Regions from separate parts of the Homo sapiens genome. Here region 2 is linked to region 1. The links are contacts of gene promoters, found by promoter capture Hi-C in human tissues and cell types (Jung and others, 2019). All regions are on one chromosome and are shown on one strand. Each heading gives the region's core, a stretch centred on a gene start or on the middle of the fragment in contact. The rest is flanking DNA. Distances are from core to core; before and after follow the strand shown. Region 1 holds the start of QRFPR (pyroglutamylated RFamide peptide receptor). Region 2 overlaps LOC107986309 (a long non-coding RNA gene).

Region 1 (7,246 bases), core at 3,270-5,769:
GCTCAGTGGTGTGCTGGGAAAGCAACTGTTTGATTTCTGGGTTTGTTTTTTTTTTTTTTCACTTTTTTAAAAAACAGGCCTAACTAGTAAGTGCTGATTTCCATGATGTGAATACTCCCACCACAACCAGTTTTAAGATAACAACATGATGTCCCTGAAAGGGGACCTGAGTAGAGTTGTGCACACTGGGCTCTGTAAGGCAGTGTGGCTGGCTCCAAAGAGACAAGTGTAACTGGTTTGGGCTGGGGCTGGCGCAGGCCATTTTCAAAAGCCCTTCAGGAGATTCTCTGTGTAGCCAGGTCTAAGAGCCATTACTACTTCAAGTAGTACTTAACAAACTTTTTTTTTTCCTTATAAAGACCTGAGCTGACTTCTCTAGTGCTTATCAAACTTTAATGTGCACGTGAAACAATTGAGAACCTTGTTAAAAAGCAGGTTTTGACTCAATAGGTGCTGCTGGTCCCCAGCAAGAAAGAGGAATGGACTGAAAGAAGAATAAAACAGTCATTCACAGTCTTAGCATTGTCAGAAATATTTGAGAGACAGGCAATGTAGAGATGTGACAAACTGGAAGTCCATGAATTATTTCTGACCAAGCCATAGAGATGTTTTCTTTTACCTGATTGCATTTTACTTTTTGTATTTGACTTAGAAGTCAGCATCATAAAAATCTGTATTCCCAGCTTTTCAGAAGGAGAGGTGGGGAAGCAAGAACAACAACAAAAGAAGATGTGACAATCCTGGGCACCACTCCAGCATGCTGCAATCCTGCCCCCTTTAGAGGAGACAGTCTTCCTTTTGTCGCCGTTGCTTCCTGGTGATCTTCATTGCTTTGTTTGTGTTTCCTACCTCACCCCTGAAGGAATTTGAGGGGTATTCATATTTTAGGTTTTTACATAACTATATATATATATATTTTTTTTTTTTTCCTCCCCAGTTGCACTACTTTTCTGTCTCATTTCCTGCCATTCCCCACATATAACCTGTGCATTCTTGCAATGCCTTGCACGGTATTCTTGGAACACACCATCTTCTTTCTTCCCTCCAACTTGGCACTGACCCCTATTCCTAGAACACACTCCATCCTCTGCTGGAAAGAGTCTAAATTATTCTCTGAATTATTCTTCCAGACCCAGCTTGAACATCACATCCTTCAGGAAGCCTTCCTGACTCTTCTGTGCTCGTAGAGCAAAGTGGATCCTTTTTCTATCAAATCCTGTTTTTGCTCATTTTGGGGCCATCTCCTATTCTCTGAGGTCCTGAAGGGCACAGATAGACTTTACTCACTTTTGTACTCTCAAGGTAGAACACTTTTCCAGATAGGAGATCCTCAATAGCTTTGTAAAATAATAAATTATGAATTAATTTTTGGCTCTTAGATTACATTCTCTTGAACTTTGGTTAATTTATCAAGGAAATTTTGCCATGATTATCCTGTCCTATAATGCGCAAGTTAATTCTATTTTCATATTGATCTCTAGCCCCTCTGCATGCTCTCACCTCTCCCTCGCACTTCAATTTTGGTATTATTTACTCAATTTATAAGATCATTATTTATTCTATAAATCTGGTCCCAGATAAACATAGGCCACCTCCAATTAAACACCCCTTAATAGAATTAATACCTTATACTTTCATGGCATGACCAATATTTTTCAAAGCACTTTTACTAACACACTTTATTCTCACACTAACCCTATAAAATAAATGAGCAATATATTACTCTCCTTCAGTATTTAGAAGCTAAAGTGAAATGTTCTCCATGAAGTAAGAAGCAGGGAGAAAAGAAAACTTGAGAAAAACCTTGGCAGTGCCCAAATAAGCCCTGAGGATGGAAGATGCACCATATGGCCTTTCTTGGCCATGATTCCCCAACATGAACTGGAGCTAAAGATCTGGCTCACTGCACTTTTTTTTTTTTTTTTTTTTTTTGAGACGGAGTCTTGCTCTGTCACCCAGGTTGGAGTGCAGTAGCGTGATCTCGGCTCACTACAACCTCTGCCTCCCGGGGTCAAGCCAAGTCTCCTGCCTCAACCTCCTGAGCAGCTGGGACTATAGGTGCGTGCCACGATGCCCGGCTAATTTTTTGTTGTTGTTTGTATTTTTAGTAGAGACGGGGTTTCACCGTGTTAGCCAGAATGGTCTCGATCTCATGACCTCGTGATCCGCCCGCCTCGGCCTCCCAAAGTGTTGGGATTACAGGCGTGAGCCACCACGCCTGGCCAGACTCACTGCACTTTCAAACTTCTCTAATCCCTAATATTTTACTGAAAAATTGAGACCCAGACATACTAAATTAACATGTATTACAGCCAAAATAGTAATCCAGTTCTTTTGATCCCCACCATAAAATCCCACTTTGCATAATTATTTTCACCTTTACAAATGGAGCTATAATCATCCCCAGCACAAAGAAGCCTCATAAATCTGCTTTCACAAACATTTAGAAATGAAAACTCATGTGCTTTTCCCCAAAAACCAAGTTCCGTATGATGATCAAAAAATACCCCATTAATTTTATGGAGTTAGTTGCACTGAGCAACTTTAAAATGCCCAAATACAATTACTGCATCAGAGTGCATAAGAAAGTCTCTAATCCATAAATCAAGGTCTTACTTTCCACATTGTGTATTACTTTCAAGTCAATGCTCTGTACTCAATGTTTAATGCTTTTTTGAAAATATTTACATTATAGATTGATAAGAATCAAGGACTTTAACATTCTGACTGACTAACAGCAAACTCAGTTTAAGCTAATGAGAAAAAAAGCAATGCTCACGATCTCAAATTGGTAATGGTAGGATGAAACACCCTCCATGAGTTTAAGAGAATTAGTAATGGGATAGAAATAGCAGAGATTGAAGGCATAATGATCTATTTCTCTTACATTTCTAACCATTTTGATGTGGCCACAAGAATACACCCAACCGTGAAAAAGGGGAGGCCCATGGTGCACCTTAAGCACTGGTGAGAATACAACACACTACTGCTCCTGGGTTTACACCAGGGCATTCTCCAGCTGTGTTCTTGGAAAAGCTGGATCATCTCAAGAAATATATCTTTTTTTCCAACCTCCACACACTGCTCCCAACTCAGTGACTCCACCTCTCCTCTGTCATTTTTTTTCCCCCATTATACGGAAGGAGGAGAATGTTATCTCTTCTTTTATAATAGGAGGGCATCAGTTTTCTGTGTTCCTTCTTCCTGCATGACACTTAATACAGTTTTTAAAAGGACTAGTTCAATATATTTTTTCTGCACATGAATTATATTTGTTTTATGCTCATAGGTACAAGAAGCTGTCTGCAAGCAACTGGGAAGTGAGGCTGGAGGGTGGGGGAATGAGGAAATGAGATTTTTAACTTTGGTTTAATTATTTGAAATATTTTTATCTCACTTTTAGTAAGAAAACTAGGGGAGAAAAACCTGGTAATGACGGGAAAGGGAGCTGAAATAAGTGGCGAGGGGTGCGACTTCCTGCCTCACTGCTCGGGACCTTTCCGAAGCTTTTCCCCAACCTATGTCTCTAAGCCACAAGGAGGAAGCACTGGAGGGGAATCAGAGGCGGCCAAAAGAACTTATGTCCAGGTGAACACAGGTGGCGAAGTTCTAAGAAAGAGCACCGGATTCATTTGACAGAGAAGTGTAAGGAAGAGACAGACGAGAGAGAGACAGACAGACGAGAGAGGAGAGAGAGAGAGAGAGAGAGAGAGAGAGAGAGAGAGAGAGAGAGAGAGAGAGAGAGAGAGATCCCCTGAAAGGCAGAGGGTTAAGAGAGAAGGAGCGAAGGAGCGGGGCGCGACTCTTACCCCCCAGCCAGTTGTCGGAAATGTTCTGGAGCATGGTGACGGGAATGCAGAAGAAGGTGATGAGCAGGTCACTGAGCGCCAAGGAGCAGATAAAGATGTTGGTGACGGTGCGCATGGCCTTGCTGCGGGTCACCACGTAGAACACCAGAGCATTGCCAAAGAGCGCCAGGGCGAAGATGAGCACGCCGGTGAGCACGAGGGCCAGCTTGGCGCGTCCCGGCAGCTCTGGGGTGTAGACGAGCGGTCGCAGCCGGTACAGAGCGATGAACTGCTCCCGCGTCAGGTTGTGGTCCCGCAGCAGCCGAGAGAACTGCTCCGGGGTAATGTTAAGCGCCTGCATTGCTGTGCGCTCCCGGGACGCGGGGCCACCGCCCGCTACTGGCTGGCCATCCGCATCTGCGGGGCAGCGAGGGCTTCGGGGGACCAGCCGGAGGCCGCCTCCCTTCCTCTACTCTGGAGTCAGCCGCGCGGGAGGGCTCTAGGCTGCACCCCGGGAGGTTCGGGAAAGGAGAGCAGCTCAGGGATCAAACCCACGATAAAGAGGCGGGAAGCCAAAGCACTGGGAGACTCGATCTCAGTGACCAAAAAATGTTCGCGGTTCAAATAAAGTTCTTCCCTTGCTCTTCCCTAAGGCGAGGCGCCGCCACGGTCTGGGGTGCTGGAGCGCCACGCGAGGGTCCTGGCGCCTCTGGCTCCCCGCCTTCTGGCCATGCGATGCGGACGCCGGACCCGCTTGGGGAGCGGTGGAGGGTGGGGCTGAACTCGGTGACGCCTCCCTCACACCCAGCTTCAGTGGCGCCAACGCCGCTTCCCCGCACCCTCAGGGCGAGGGAAGACTTCCCTGGCTCACCAACTTGCTGCCGCCCAGCGCCTTTCTCAGGGCATGGCCCCAGTCAGGTAATGCTTGTATGTGAAACTGGGTATTGGGGGGTTCCACAGTTTCAAGTTTCTCCTCTTGCGTAATAATGGGAGCCACAACTACCCAAGGCAAATAGGGCTTATTTTAAATTATTTTCTGTATTGAAAAATAATTAAGATAGTTAAAATATAGAACTTGGGAAATGGCAAAGATAATACAGAAAGATCCTGCGTACCCACCCTTCACCCAGTTTCTTTCATTCATTACATCTTATTTAACTACGGAACAATACAAAACCAGGAATTTGACACAGGTACAGTGTTTGCATGTTTTTATCTCAAGTGTAGATTCCCGTAACCGTCAGGATACAAACTCTTCTATCACCACAAAAATCTCCCTGGTGCTTTTTATACTCACACCTAGCCCCTCCCTCCACCATCTCTAACTCCTGGCAACCACTAATATGTTCTCTCTTAACTTTTGTCAGAACATTACGTAAGGGAAATCATACAATATGCTGCCTTTTGATATTGAATTTTCTTCGCTCAGCCTAATGCCCTTTAAATCCATCCAAGTTGTTGCATGTATTAATGGCTGTTTCTTTTTATTGCTGAGGCTGTATCACCGTTTATTTAACCATCCACCTCTTGTAGAACATTTTGGTTGATTACCATTTTGAGCTATTAAAAATAAAGCTGCTATAAAGAATCATGTACAGGTTTTTGTGTGAACATAGTTTTCCTTTCTATAGGAAATGCCAAAAGTTTTGATTATTGAATCTGTAATGTGTATATTTAATTTTTAAAGAGATTGACTACTTTTCAGAGTGGCTGTACAAGTCTCCATCTCTACCATCAATGCATGAGAAGTTACGTTTCTCCACATCCTTGCCAGCATTTGGTTTTGCTGCTTTTTTTTTTTAAGCTATTCTAATAGATCTGTAGTGATATCTCTTTAGGGCCTTAATTTACATTTACCTAATGGCAAGTAATATTGAACATCTCATGTGCTTATTTGCCGTCCTTGAATCTTCTTTGGTGAAATGTCTTTCCATGTGTTTTGTCCGTTTCTAATTGCATGGTTTAGTTTATTTGCTGTTGAAAGTTCTTTTTATATTCTACATACAAGTCCTTTGTTAGTAAACGGTTTGCAAATATGTTCTTCCAGTCTGTAGCTTGTTATTTATCTTCTTAACAGGGACTTTCACAGAACAGCTTTTAGTTTTAGTGAAGTCATATTTATCAATATTTTCTTTTATAGATAGCTTTTAGTGTTCAGTCTAACTTCACCAAAGCCTATTTCTCAAAAACTTTCTCTTAGGTATTTTTCTAAAAGTGTTATAGTTTTACATTTTATGTTTTGGGCTCTCTATTCTGTTGAATTGATCTATGTGTCTATCCTCCACATTCTTGACTACTGTAGCTATATAATAAGTTTTGAAATCAGGTAGCATGATTTCTCATACTTCATTCTTATTTTTCAAAATTATTGTAACTATTCTAGGACCTGTGCCTATTCATATACATTTTACAATCAACTTGTCTATGTCTACAAAAAACCTTGCTGGGATTTTGATAGAAATTGACATATTTACTAGGTTGAGTTTTTCAATCCATGAGAAGAATGTCTTTCCATAAATTTACATCTTTGATTTATTTCAAAGGCATTTTACAGTTTTCAGCATGTAAGTCCTGTACATATTTTTAGATTTGCACCTAAGTATTTCATTTTGGGCGGACATTTGTACACGGTACTGTACTGAATTTCTAATTTTTGGTTCCATGTGTTCATTACTAGTATGCAGAAATCCAATTTATTTCGTATGTTGATCTTGATTCCTCCAATGTTGATGAATTCACTTAATTTTATTAGGAGGTTGATATGATTTGGCTCTGTGTCCCCACCCAAATCTCATCTTGTAGCTCCCATAATTCCCATGTGTTGTGGGAGGGACCAGTGGGAGATGATTGAATCATGGGGGTGGGTCTTTCCACGATGTTCTCATGATAGTGAATGGGTCTCATGAGATCTGATGGTTTTAAAAACAGCAGTTTCTCTGCACAAGTTCTCTCTTTGCCTGCTGCCATCTATGTAAGATGTGACCTATTCCTCCTTGCCTTCCACCTTGATTGTGAGGTCTTCCCAGCCATGTGGGACTGTAAATCCAGTAAACCTCTTTCTTTTGTAAATTGCCCAGTCTTGGGTATGTCTTTATCAGCAGTGTGAAAATGGACTAATACAGAGGGTTTTTTGGTAGATTTCTTGCATAGACAATCACATTATCTGAGAAGAAAGACAGTTTTATTTCTTCCTTTCTGATTTGTATGCTCTTTATTTCTGGTTTTAGCTGTTGTTTGTTTGGTTGTTGTTTTTGTTTTCTTTTGTTTTTTTTTTTTTTTATTTTTTGCCTAACTGCAATGGTTGGAGTACACAGTTTACTATGTTAAATGGCAATGGAGAATGGAGATCATCCTTGTCTTGTCCTCAATCTTATAAGGATGTATTCAGCCTTCTTTCACCATTAAGTATGATGTTAGTTGCAGATGTTCTTTATCAACTTGAGAAGGTTACTGTCTAT
Region 2 (7,246 bases), core at 3,353-5,852, 56 kb after region 1:
CCCCCTTTTATTGTTTTTTTTAACTGTTGTTTGAGTTGCTTATATATTCTGCATATTAGTCATTTGTCAGGTGAATAGTTTGCAAAATTTTTCTCCTATTCAACAGGCTATCTTTTCACTCTGTCAGTTGTTTACTTTGCTGTACAGAAGCTTTTTAGTTTAGTTAGTTTAGTACAGTCCCTTTTGTCTATTTTTGTTTTTATTTCCTATGCTTTTAAGATTTTAACCATAAAATCTTTGTCTAGGACGATGTCTTGAAGTGTTTCACCTATTTTTTCTTCTACTAGTTTTACAGTTTCAGGTCTTACCTTGAGGTATTTAATTCATCTTGGGTTGAATTTTGTATATGGTGAGAAATAGGGGTTGTTTTATTCTTCTATGTATAGATAACTAGTTTTCCCAGTACCATTTATTGAAGAGACTGTATGTTCTTAACACCTTTGTTGAAAATCAGTTGGCTGTAAATACATAATTTCTCAGTTCTCTATTCTGTTCAATTGGTCTATGTGTATATATTTTTACCAATTCCATGCTGTTTTTGTTACAATAGCCTTGTAATATATTTTAAATTCAGGTAATGTGATGCCTTCAGATTTATTCTTTGTGCCAAAGATTACTTTGGCCATTTGGAGTCTTTCGTGGTTCCATACAAATTTTAGGATAATTTTTCTATTTTTCTGGATAATGACATGGTAATTTGGTAGAGACTGCATTGAATCTGTACATTGCTTTGGGTAGTATGGTCATTTAAGAAATATTAATTATTATGATCCACAAGTATGGTATATCATTCTATTTGTTTGTGTGCTCTTCAATTTCTTTCACCATTGTTTTCTAGTTTTCACTGTGAATATCTTTCTTCTCCTTGGTTAAATTTATTCCTAGGTATTTTCTTTTTTATTTTTGTAGCATTGTAAATGGAATTGCCTTCTTGATTTCTTTCTAAGGCAGTTCATTATTGGTATACAGAAATGCTACTGATTTAAAATTTTTTAAATTTTTGTGGGTACATTGGTGTATATATCTATGGGGTACATGAGATATTTTGATACAGCCATACAATACACAGTGGTCACATCAGAGTAAATAGGGTATTGTATTAGTCCATGTTCATGCTGTTGATAAAGACGTCCTCAAGACTGAGAAGAAAAAAAGGTTTAATGGACTTACAGTTCCATGTGGCTGGGGACTCCTCACAACCATGGAAGGTGAAAGACATATCCCACATGGTGGCAGACAAGAGAAGAGAGCTTGTGCAGGGAAACTCCCATTTTTTTAAAAACCATCAGATTTTATGAGACTTATTCACTATCACAAGAAAAGCACAGGAAAGACTTGCCCTCACGATTCACTCATCTCCCACCAGGTCCCTCCCACAACATGTGGAAATTATGGGAACTACAAGATGAGATTTGGGTGGGCACACAGAGCCAAACCATATCCTTTCACCCCTGGCCCCTCTCAAATCTCATGTCCTCACGTTTCAAAACCAATCATGCCTTCCCAACAGTCCCCCAAAGTCTCAACTCATTTCAGAATTAACTCAAAAGTCCACAGTCCAGAGTCTCATCTGAGACGATGCAAGTCCCTTCTACTGATGAGCCTGTAAAATCAAAAGCAAGTTAGTTAGTTCTAGATACAGTGGAGTACAAGCATTGAGTAAATACAGCCATTCCAAATGTGAGACACTGGCCAAAATAACGTGGCTACAAGCCCCATGAAAGTCCAAAATCCAGTGGGGCAGTCAAATCTTAAATGTCCAAAATGATTTCCTTTGACTCCATGTCTCACATCCAGGTCATGCTGATGCAAGAGGTGGGTTTCCACGGTCTTGGACAGCTCTGCCCTCGTGGCTTTGCCAGGTACAGCCTCCCTCCGGGCTGCTTTCATGAGCTGGCATTGAGTTTCTGCAGCTTTTCCAGGTGCATGATGCAAGCTGTCAGTGGATCTACCATTCTGGGGTCTGGAGGATGGTGGCCTCCTTCTCACAGCTCCACTAGGTTGTGCTCCAGTAGGGACTCTGTGTGGGGGCTTCAACCCCACATTTTCCTTCCACATTGCCCTAGCAGAAATTCTCCATGAGAGCCCCACCCCTGCAGCAAACTTCTGCCTGGACATCCAGGCACTTCCATACATCTTCTGAAACCCAGGTGGAGATTTCCAAACACCATTTCTTGACTTCTGTGCACTGGCAGGCTCAACACCACATGGAAGCTGCCAAGGTTTGGGGCTTGCACCCTCTGAAGCCACAACCTAAGCTCTGCATTAGCCCTTTCAGCCATGGCTGGAGTGACTAGGACATAGGGCACCAAGTCCCTAGGCTGCATACAGCATGGAGACCCTGGAGCTGGCCCACTAAACCACTTTTTCCTCCTCGGCCTCTGGGCTTGTGATGGAAGGGCCTGCCATGAAGACCTCTGACATGCTCTGGAGACATTTTCCCCATTGTCTTCGGGATTAACATTCAGGTCCTCATTACCTATGCAAATTTCTGTAGCCAGCTTGGATTTCTCCTCAGAAAATGGGCTTTTCTTTTCTATTGCATTGTCAGGCTGCAAATTTTCCAAACTTTTATTCTCTGTTTCCCTTTTAAAACTGAGTGCCTTTAACAGTACTCAAGTCACTTCTTGAATGTTTTGCTGATTAGAAATTTTTTCCACCAGATACCCTAAATCATCTCTCTCAAGTTCAAATTTCCACAAATCTCTAGAGCAGGGGCAAAATGCTGCCAGTATCTTTGCTAAAACATAACAAGAGTCACCTTTGCTCCAATTCCCAACAAGTTCCTTATTTCCATCTGAGACCACCTCAGCCCTAACCTTATTGTCCATATCGCTATCAGGATTTTGTTCAAGGCCATTCAACAAGCATCTAGGAAGCTCCACACTTTCCTGCATTTTTCTGTCTTCTTCTGAGCCCTCCAAACAATTTCAACCTCTGCTTGTTAACCAGTTTCAAAGTTGCATCCACATTTTTGGGTATCTTTTCAGCAACGCCCCACTCTGCTAGTACCAATTTACGTATTAATCTGCTTTCATACTGCTGATAAAGACATACACGAGACTGAAGTAAAAAACGTTTAATGGACTTACAGTTCCATGTGGCTGCGAATGACTCACAATTATGGTGGAATGTGAAAGGCATGTCTCACATGGCAGGAGATAAGAGAAGAGAGCTTGTGCAGGGAAACTCCCATTTTTTTCAAAGCCATCAGATCTTGTGAGACTTATTCACTATCATAAGAAGAGGATGGGAAAGACCTGGACCCAGGATTCAGTCATCTCCAACTGGGTCCCTCTCACAACACATGGGAATTATGGGAGCTACAAGATGAGTTTGGGTGGGGACACAGAACCAAACCATATTAGATATCCATCACCTCAAGCAATTATTTTTTCTTTGTGTTATAAACAATTCTATTATACTCTTTTAAATATACAACAAATTATTGACTGTAGTCACCCTGTTGTGCTATCAAATACTAGATTTTATTCATTCTATCTAACTATGTTTTTGTACCAATTAGCTGTGCTCAATTCCTCCTGCCACTCGTTTCCCAGTCTCTGGTAACCATCATTCTACTGTCTATTTTTCGTGGGTTCAACTGTTTTAATTTTTAGCTTCCACAATTAAGTGAAAAATGAAAAATATGTCTTCTATGCCTGGCTAATTTCACTTATTATAATGTCCTCCAGTTCCATCCATGTTGTTGCAAATGACAGGATCTCATTATTTTTTATGGCTGAATACTACTCCATTGTGTAAACATACCACATTTTCTTTATCTTGTTATCTGTTGATGGACACCTAGGTTGCTTCCAAATCCTGGCTATTGTGAATAGTGCTGTAATAAGCATGAGAGTACAGATATTTCTTCAATATACTAATTTCCTTTCTTTTGGGTGTATGCCTAACAATGGAATTCCTGGATCATATGATAGTTCTACTTTTAGTTGTTTGAAGAACCTCTGAACTGTTCTCCATTGTGATTGTACTAATTTATGTTCATACCAACAGTGTATGAGAGTTCTTTCTCTGTGTCCTTGTCAGCATTTCTTATTGCCTGTCTTTTGAATAAAAGCCATTTTAATTAGTAAGATGATATCTCATTGTAGTTTTGATTTGCATTTCTCTGATGATCAATTATGTTGAGCATCTTTTCATATATCTGTTTGCCATTTGTAAGTTTTTTTTTTTAGGAATGTCTATTCAGATCATTTGCCCATATTTTAATCAGATCATTTGTTTTTTCCTATAGAGTTGTTTGAGCTAATTACATATTCTGGTTATTTATCCTTTATCAGACACAGTTTCACCTTAACATTTGGCTTATGATAAGGAGTCCAGCAACCACCATGAGACACATTTTGTCCCAAACTCAATTCTAAACTTCAGGTCAAAGCCCTAGGAAAGAAAACTGGATCTAAGGGATCCAGAGGCAGATGACAATAGAAGTTAAAAGGCACAGTGCAAGTAAACATGGCTGATTCCTGCCAATAAAGCCAAACCCAAGCTTCTTGTTTCATGGATAAAGGCCATGTTAGTATCTGTGGCATAAATGAGGTCTAGGGAATTCAAGGCTACTGAAACCAGGAGAAATACGGTGTATGTGGGTAAAAGCAGACGATTTCCACCTTCTAGGCCCCCCTGCTTCATGGGTGCAAGTCACTTTAACACCCGTGGCGGCACCTGCCAAGTTCGCTGGGACTTGGGAATGGAAGAGGGAAAGAGGATACTCTTCCCTCTCTCCCTCATGTACCCTGGGTATCTGCTAGGAAGAGAAGGGAACCAGGCATACCTGCTCCCCTCTTTCTAGATAGGAAGCCATTCATCTTCAGTCTGTACCCCTTTCAAATGCATCCTGAACCCCTGGGATTCCTTTGAAAAAATGCCTTCTTTTTCCCTTTCTCCTTCTCAGTTCTCTCTTCGCTGATAAATAATTGCTATATATATATATACATATATATATATATACACACATATATATATGTATACATATGTATATATATATATATCTGAGTGCTCAAATATTGGTTATATCTCTGTTTAGATTGTTATATCCTCTTGCTTACTTGATTACTTTATCATGATATAATTACCTTCTTTGTCTCTTTTTACTATTTTTGACTTAAAATCTGTTTTATCTGATATAACTATAGCTACTCCTGCTCACATTTTGTTGCCCATTTACATGGAATATCTTTTTCTACCTCTTTACTTTCAGTCTATGTGTATGTGTCTCTACAGATGAGGTAAGTTTCTTGTAGGCAGCACATAGTTGGGTTTTTTGTTTTTCATTTTGGTCCATTCAGCCTGCCTGTATTTTTTTTTTTTTGAGACAGAGTCTTGCTCTGTTGTTTGGCTAGTGTACAGTGGCATGAGCTCAGCTCACTGCAACCTCTACCTCCTGGGTTCAAATGATTATCCTGCCTCAGCCTCTCTAGTAGCTGGGATTACAGGCACCTGCCACAAGTCCCATCTTTTTTTTTTTTTTTTTTTTTTTTTTTTTTTGTATTTTTAGTAGGGACAGGGTTTGACCATGTTGGCCAGGCTGGTTTCAAATTCCTGACCTCAGTGATCCACCCACCTTGGCCTCCCAAAGTGCTGGGATTACAAGCATAAGCCACCATGCCTGGCCAGTGTATGTCTTTTAAATGGAAAGTTTAATCTGTTTACCTTCAAGGTTATTATTGATATGTGAAGGCTTATTCCTGTCATTTTATTGTTTTCTGGTTGTTTTGTGTATCCGTTGTTCCGTTCTTTCTTATTGTTTATCATTGTAGTTTCATGGTTTCCTGTAGTGATAACATTTGAGTTCTTTTTATTCCTTATTTGTGTGTGCTCTACCAGTGAGTTTAATATTTTCGTGTGTTTTTACGGTGGTAGATATTGTTCGTTTACTTCCAGATGTAGGACTCCCTGAAGCATTTCTCGAAGGGCCAGTCTAGTGGTGATGTATTCATTCAGCTTTTGCTTATCTAGAGAAGACTTTATTTCTCCATCATTTATGAAGGATAAATTTGCTAGTGTAATATCCTTAGCAGATAGGTGGTTTTCTTTCAGCACTTTGATTATATTATCACATTCTCTTCTGTTCTGAAGGGTTTCTGCTGAGAAATCTGTAGGGTCTGATGGTAATTCCCCTAAGAGTGACTAGACACTTTCCTCTTGCTGGCTTTAGAATTATCTCTTTGTCCTTGACTTTTGACAGTTGACAGTAATGTGCTCTGGAGAAGGCCTTTTTAGTTTGTATCTATCTGGTCATGCCTGAGCTGCCTATATTTAGATGTCTCAATCTCCTGCTAGACTTTGGTTGTTTTTAAGCTATTATTTCAATAAATAGGCTTTTTAAAATCCCTTTGGTTTTCTCTTCACTTTAAGGAATACTAAACATTTTTATATTTGGTCATTTTATGGTGCCCTATATGTCACATAGTCTTTGTTCATTCTTTTTAACTCTTTTTTCTTTAATTCTGTCTAACCAGTTTATTTCAAAAGACCTCCCTTAAAGTTCTAATATTCCTTCTTTCTTGATGTAGTCTACTGTTAAAGCTCTCAAATGTATTTTTTATTTTATTCAATAAATTCTTGCGTTCCAGAATTTCTGTTTTGTTCTTTTTTATGGTATCTATCTATTTGGTAAATTTCTCATCCACATCTTAAATAGTTTTTACAATTTCTTTGTATTATTTATCTGTGTTCTCTTATATTTCACTGAGGTCCTTTAATATCATTATTTTAAGTTCTTTTTTTGGCATTTCCTAAATTCTTTTTTATTAGAATCTGTTTCTGGGGAATTATTGTTTTCCTTTGGAAACATCATATTTCCTTTTTAAATATATTTCTTGTGTCTTTACACTGATAACTGTACTTCTGGTATAATAGTTACTTCTTCTAGTTTTTTGGGTTTACTTTCATAGGGGAGGACTTTTCCCTGAAGATATATCTATGATTTTGGTTGGGTATAGCAGTTTGACTTTGATTCTGGGTGTCTGCAGTAGTGTAGTCTCTGTATAATTCCTTCAGTTATAAATAGCATCAGTGCTGTCTGTGATTTCCTCAGTCACTTAGGGTAAACTTGTTAGTAGAGGCTGTGGTGAAGTTTTGCTCGAGATGGTGATGCCAAGTGGGCCTGTCCTTGGACCCAAATGGTGGAAGCAGTGGGCTTAGTATGCCTGTCCTTGGGCCTTAGGGCAACAACATACTCTGCACTGGTGTTAGTGGGTCCAAGCAGGCTGATTCTTGG

The links. Contacts are between HindIII fragments. The study calls those that stand out against the background at their distance.
Region 2: a contact is called between a fragment that was not itself captured here and the fragment with the promoter of QRFPR in region 1, in 1 of the 25 tissues and cell types used here (H1 embryonic stem cells).

What each region holds. Positions count from the first base shown.
Region 1 is chr4:121,376,499-121,383,744 of GRCh38, forward strand. It overlaps QRFPR (pyroglutamylated RFamide peptide receptor), which reads right to left and starts at 4,520. Exons shown (of 6, transcript NM_198179.3): 1 at 3,810-4,520. The coding sequence starts at 4,149. RefSeq lists an enhancer at 4,306-5,090. The HindIII fragment of the contact is 9,664 bases long and covers 1,370-7,246 here.
Region 2 is chr4:121,432,302-121,439,547 of GRCh38, forward strand. All of the region lies in intron 1 of LOC107986309 (a long non-coding RNA gene), which reads left to right. Among named protein-coding and RNA genes, the nearest start is that of QRFPR, 55 kb to the left of the region's middle. The HindIII fragment of the contact is 4,542 bases long and covers 2,332-6,873 here.